Regions from separate parts of the Homo sapiens genome. Here region 2 is linked to region 1. Evidence: promoter capture Hi-C in 16 types of primary human blood cells and fetal thymus (Javierre and others, 2016). All regions are on one chromosome and are shown on one strand. Each heading gives the region's core, a stretch centred on a gene start or on the middle of the fragment in contact. The rest is flanking DNA. Distances are from core to core; before and after follow the strand shown. Region 1 holds the start of DDX28 (DEAD-box helicase 28). Region 2 holds the start of AGRP (agouti related neuropeptide).

Region 1 (2,761 bases), core at 130-2,629:
TTAAAATTGTGAAAGTTTTTCCTCATACTATTCCAAAAAAAGCAAAGTTTTTATCTTTTCATTGGTATTTGATGAAACTAAAACGTTTTCTCCAGATGTTACGAACCTCCCAGAGAGTTAATCCATAAATATTTACCTTATCTCCCACCCCAGGCACTGCAAATTACAGAAAAGATCTGACACCCATTTTCCAGATCTGTTCAAGAAGTATCTGTTGGGCATGGTGGCTCACGCTTATAATCCCATCACTTTGGGAGGCCGAGGTGGGAAGATCGCTTGAGGCCAGGAGTTCGAGACCAGCCAGGCCTACATAGTGAAACCCTGTCTCTACTAAAAACAGAAAAAATTAGCCGGGCGTGGGTGGTGTACGGCTGTAGTCTCAGCTACTTGGGAGGCAGAGGCAGGAGAATCACCTGAACCCAGGAGGTGGAGGTTGCAGTGAGCCGAGATTGCGCCACTGCACTCCAGCCTGGGTGACAGAACGAGACTGTGTCTCAGAAAAAAAAAAAAAAAAAGTGACTCGTATAGTTCTTGTTTTTACAACCCGAATATCTGAATTCAGGTAAAATATTCTGCCTGACCAGGGCTACATGATAAGCCACGTACTTGATCACTTTGTAGGGTCGCAGCACCCTTCTTACTACTATTTTAGGTAATTCAGGTTTCTGACGGGGAAGCCAGTGGAGCTGAGCGGGCTGCAAGAGGGGTGGGTTCTGGATGAGAAGTTGGGACGCGTGACGAGGGAGTAGAGAGTGAACCTTGGCTTAAAAGGAAGGAAAATAACTGTGAAGAAAAGATGACCCAACTTGAAATAAAACCTGAAGACCTTATCTCCCACTTGAGAGAGAGAAGAAGCTGAAAGCCATCAGCTTGCACTCTGGGCTCACAGACAGAGAGGGTGAGGGGTTGAGCCCAGATCTATGACTTCAGACCCCTGTCTCGGCCCCTAGGCCTGATCATTCATTCAAACTCTCAATAAACACGGATTACCAGACCCTGCGCAGGGAACACATCTGGGAAAACAGCTGCAACCTCGGATACCAGCACGGGACAAGCTATCTCAGGGCAATGAGGAACAACTAAAGAGAATCCCAGGAACCAGGTAACCAATCGCCAGAAGCCCTCCGCCCTCATGGTCCATTGGGTCAAGGCCCCACTGCCGCCTCGTATCGCCAGCCTCCAGTCCTGCCTCCACGACGCGCCCTTCCCCAAGGCTGGCCGGGTCTGGATGTCGCCATCCCCTATTCGGAGCTACAGACCTCGCAGCTGAACTCTTAAAAAGAACCTCGCTTCTTCCTCACGGTGCTCCAGCTCCACACACCGTACTGAGCCTCGCCAGCCACCGTACGCGAGGTCGCGGCGCGTCCGTGACGTCACTGATGTGCGCTTCTCCCGCACTAAGGGAAACATGGCTCTAACGCGGCCGGTGCGGCTCTTTTCCCTCGTGACTCGGTTGCTCCTGGCGCCGCGACGGGGCCTCACGGTCCGCAGTCCCGACGAACCCCTGCCGGTGGTGCGCATCCCAGTGGCTCTACAGCGGCAGTTGGAACAGCGGCAGAGCAGGCGGCGGAACCTCCCGAGGCCGGTGCTGGTTCGACCCGGACCGCTGCTGGTTTCGGCGCGGCGGCCGGAGTTGAACCAGCCGGCGCGCCTCACACTGGGCCGTTGGGAGCGCGCGCCGCTAGCCTCTCAAGGCTGGAAGAGTCGACGCGCGCGTCGGGACCACTTCTCCATCGAGCGCGCGCAACAGGAGGCGCCAGCGGTGCGAAAGCTCTCGTCTAAGGGCAGCTTTGCTGACCTGGGCCTGGAGCCCCGTGTGCTGCACGCACTACAGGAGGCTGCGCCTGAAGTCGTTCAGCCCACAACCGTGCAGTCTAGCACCATCCCCTCACTACTTCGCGGCCGCCATGTCGTTTGCGCCGCAGAAACCGGCAGTGGCAAGACTCTCAGCTACCTCCTGCCGCTGCTTCAACGGCTCTTGGGCCAGCCAAGCCTGGACTCCCTTCCTATCCCCGCGCCCCGAGGCCTGGTCCTTGTTCCTTCCCGAGAATTGGCCCAACAGGTGCGGGCTGTGGCCCAACCCTTGGGCCGCTCCTTGGGCCTGCTGGTGCGGGACCTGGAGGGAGGCCACGGCATGCGTAGGATCAGGCTGCAGCTGTCCAGACAGCCTTCAGCAGATGTGCTTGTGGCCACTCCAGGGGCTCTGTGGAAGGCCCTGAAAAGTCGACTGATCAGTCTGGAGCAACTCTCCTTCTTGGTGTTGGATGAGGCAGACACACTGCTGGATGAAAGCTTCCTGGAACTGGTGGACTACATCTTAGAGAAGAGCCACATAGCAGAAGGCCCAGCTGACTTGGAAGACCCCTTCAATCCCAAAGCTCAGTTAGTGCTGGTAGGAGCCACATTTCCCGAAGGTGTAGGCCAGTTGCTGAATAAAGTCGCCAGCCCAGATGCTGTCACCACCATCACCAGCTCCAAGCTCCACTGTATCATGCCTCATGTGAAACAGACATTTCTGAGACTGAAGGGAGCAGATAAGGTGGCCGAGCTGGTGCACATCCTCAAGCATCGTGACAGAGCAGAAAGGACTGGTCCCTCAGGAACTGTTCTGGTGTTCTGTAATAGCTCCAGCACTGTGAACTGGCTGGGATATATTCTGGATGACCACAAAATCCAACACCTAAGGTTGCAGGGGCAAATGCCAGCCTTGATGAGGGTAGGAATCTTCCAGTCCTTCCAGAAGAGCTCCCGAGACATACTT
Region 2 (2,700 bases), core at 128-2,627, 540 kb after region 1:
TCAGCCCTCGTCCATCACTGCCCATGGGGCTGATACACCTGTGTGCACACACTCAGGTGAAGACAGCTGCTGCCCGTAGGTGAGGTAAGACACTGAGCACCTGTGTGGGAGGAGATCTTCCACTCCCACTCTGTCCACACCAGACCATGAAGAGCTCTCCATAGCATGGGTGCTGACCAGGCCCAGCCTGGGTGACAGAGTGAGACCCTGACTCAAAGAAAAAGACATAATGAGGTGTGATTTTAATTTCTTGGATGTCCCAGTATATATAAATGTTGGGAGTATGGATTGCTTCATTTCATTTTAAATAGCATTTTTTTTTTAAGATGGAGTCTCACTCTGTCACCCAGGTTGGAGTGCAGTGGTGCGATCTCTGCTCACTGCAGTCTCTGCCTCCCGTGTTACAAGTGATTCTCCTGCCTCAGCCTCCCGGGTAGGTGGGATTACAGGCATGTGCCACCATGCCTGAATAACTTTTGTATTTTTAGTAGAGATAGGGTTTCACCATATTGGCCAAGCTGGTTTGAACTCCTGACCTCCAGTGATCCGCCCACCTTGGCCTCCCAAAATGCTGGGATTACAGGCGTGAGCCACCGTGCCTGGCCACCCTTTATCTTCTTTTCTTTTTGAGACAGGATCTTGCTCTGTCGCTCAGCCTGGAGTGTGGTGATGCAGTCATAGCTCACTGCACTCTTGAATCCCTGTGCTCAAGCCATCCTCCCACCTCAGCCTCTACTACAGGCATGCACCACTACACCCAGCTATTTTTTTATTTTTTGTAGCAACGGGGTCTCACCATGATACCCAGGCTGGTCTTAAACCCCTGGCCTTGTGATCCTCCCACCTTGGCCTCTCAAAATGCTGGAATTACAGGTGTGAGCCACCATACCTGGCCCCCTTCATCTTTTTTCCACTGCCTTGTGCCAACCCAGTTTGTGCACTGGGGCCTTGCGATCCTCTCAAAGCTGATTCAGCCTGCATTCCTTTCCCAGATGGACACGTGTGTGATAAACAGCTCTGCAGTGGGGTGAGGGAAGGCAGGGGCAGCAGGGTCCTGTATGTCCTGCCATCTCCACAAAAGGGCAGTCCTTACCCCAGCCTTGTGCTGATGAGACCAGGCATAGACAGTCCTGACGACACAGGGCGGAAGGGAGCAGCCATTAGTGCTAATGAGGCAGGCGGCCTGAAAGCTTTGTACTCTGCAGTGGCTCGCCCACCCAGGGAACAGTTCGTTCTGTTTCCTTGGCTTCCAGGAACCCTAGGCAGAAAGGGGTTTGGGGACAGGAGCAGGAGTGGGCGGTCTTGGAGAAACCTGGAGGGAGAAAGGGAGGGGAGGACCAGAAATGTAGTCAGGAGGGCCTAGGATTGGTTAGGTGGGCTTTTCCTTCCCCTTTCCCTCCAAAGAAACCCAGGTTCTGGTTCTGCACCTACCCCTGCCCAACAGTGGCCATTGGCCCATCACCCGCTCCAATGTCCTTGACCCGAATTCTTGGAAGCACAGGAAACAACATGCCACATAGGGGTTGAGTAAGCATCTCTGGGGCCACAAATTAAATTAAGCTTTCAGGGCCGCCTGCCTTGTTATTGCTAATGGTTCTAGCCCTGCTCAGCTCCTAGGTCCCTGTCCTGTGGAAATTTGTGGACCCTGGGCACCCTCTCTTGCTCCCAAATTTTAATCGGCTCCTGGAAACCTCACCCCAAATTGGAGATAGGCACTCCTCTTGTAGAACAAAAGGCTCAGGTTCAGGGAGTGAGGGCCTGAACTGTGCCCCCACCCTCCAGGAAGGGTCCTTCACGGCCTGGCTGCAGGGATCAGTCACGTGTGGCCCTTCATTAGGCCCTGCCATATAAGCCAAGGGCACGGGGTGGCCGGGAACTCTCTAGGCAAGAATCCCGGAGGCAGAGGTGAGTCCTCAGGTTGGGCAGGGACTCCTCCTCTCTGTGGGGTCTCTATCTGGGCACCTAGAGGGGACTCCAAGGATAAGGAGGGACTAAGTGGTACATCTTCCTGCTGAGCCAGGCCATGCTGACCGCAGCGGTGCTGAGCTGTGCCCTGCTGCTGGCACTGCCTGCCACGCGAGGAGCCCAGATGGGCTTGGCCCCCATGGAGGGCATCAGAAGGCCTGACCAGGCCCTGCTCCCAGAGCTCCCAGGTCAGTGTGAGCAAGGGTGGGACTGGGCGGGGCCTGAATACCCTCTGGCCACAAATAGTCTCCCCTGGCATAAACCCTCTTTCTCCCTTCCCAAACCCTCCCCTGGGAGGTGGGTGCTTTGTGCATGGGGGTTCCTGCCCTCACATCCTCTGCCCCAGGCCTGGGCCTGCGGGCCCCACTGAAGAAGACAACTGCAGAACAGGCAGAAGAGGATCTGTTGCAGGAGGCTCAGGCCTTGGCAGAGGTAACTGCTCAGGGAAAAGGGTAAGGTGGTGGCCCTTGGGAGGGGGCATTGGGTATTAGCTCCTCTCCCCAGCTCCAAACTCCCTCACCAGCGACGACACTACCGACCACCCCTTCCCATGCTCCACTGCCATCCTGCACAGGTTGGGACAGGTAAGATCCCTGGATCTGTCTTTAGAGGCCTGTGCTGGTTCCCCACCCCTGCAGGTACTAGACCTGCAGGACCGCGAGCCCCGCTCCTCACGTCGCTGCGTAAGGCTGCATGAGTCCTGCCTGGGACAGCAGGTGCCTTGCTGTGACCCAT

What was found. The method cuts DNA at HindIII sites, captures the fragments that hold promoters and counts their contacts. A CHiCAGO score of 5 or more calls a contact.
Region 2: a fragment that was not itself captured here is called in contact with the fragment with the promoter of DDX28 in region 1 in 1 of 17 cell types (naive B cells); the score reaches 5.5 in naive B cells.

What each region holds. Positions count from the first base shown.
Region 1 is chr16:68,021,850-68,024,610 of GRCh38, reverse strand. It overlaps DDX28 (DEAD-box helicase 28), which reads left to right and starts at 1,379. Exons shown (of 1, transcript NM_018380.4): 1 at 1,379-2,761. The coding sequence starts at 1,409. It overlaps DUS2 (dihydrouridine synthase 2), which reads right to left and starts at 1,327. Exons shown (of 17, transcript NM_017803.5): 1 at 1,260-1,327. RefSeq lists enhancers at 1,227-1,466, 1,177-1,927, 1,928-2,678. The HindIII fragment of the contact is 5,621 bases long and covers 1-2,294 here.
Region 2 is chr16:67,482,722-67,485,421 of GRCh38, reverse strand. AGRP (agouti related neuropeptide) reads left to right here and starts at 1,875. Exons shown (of 4, transcript NM_001138.2): 1 at 1,875-1,905; 2 at 2,021-2,153; 3 at 2,312-2,397; 4 at 2,604-2,700. The coding sequence starts at 2,024. It overlaps ATP6V0D1-DT (ATP6V0D1 divergent transcript), which reads right to left. Exons shown (of 4, transcript NR_184227.1): 2 at 1,094-1,312. The HindIII fragment of the contact is 370 bases long and covers 1,193-1,562 here.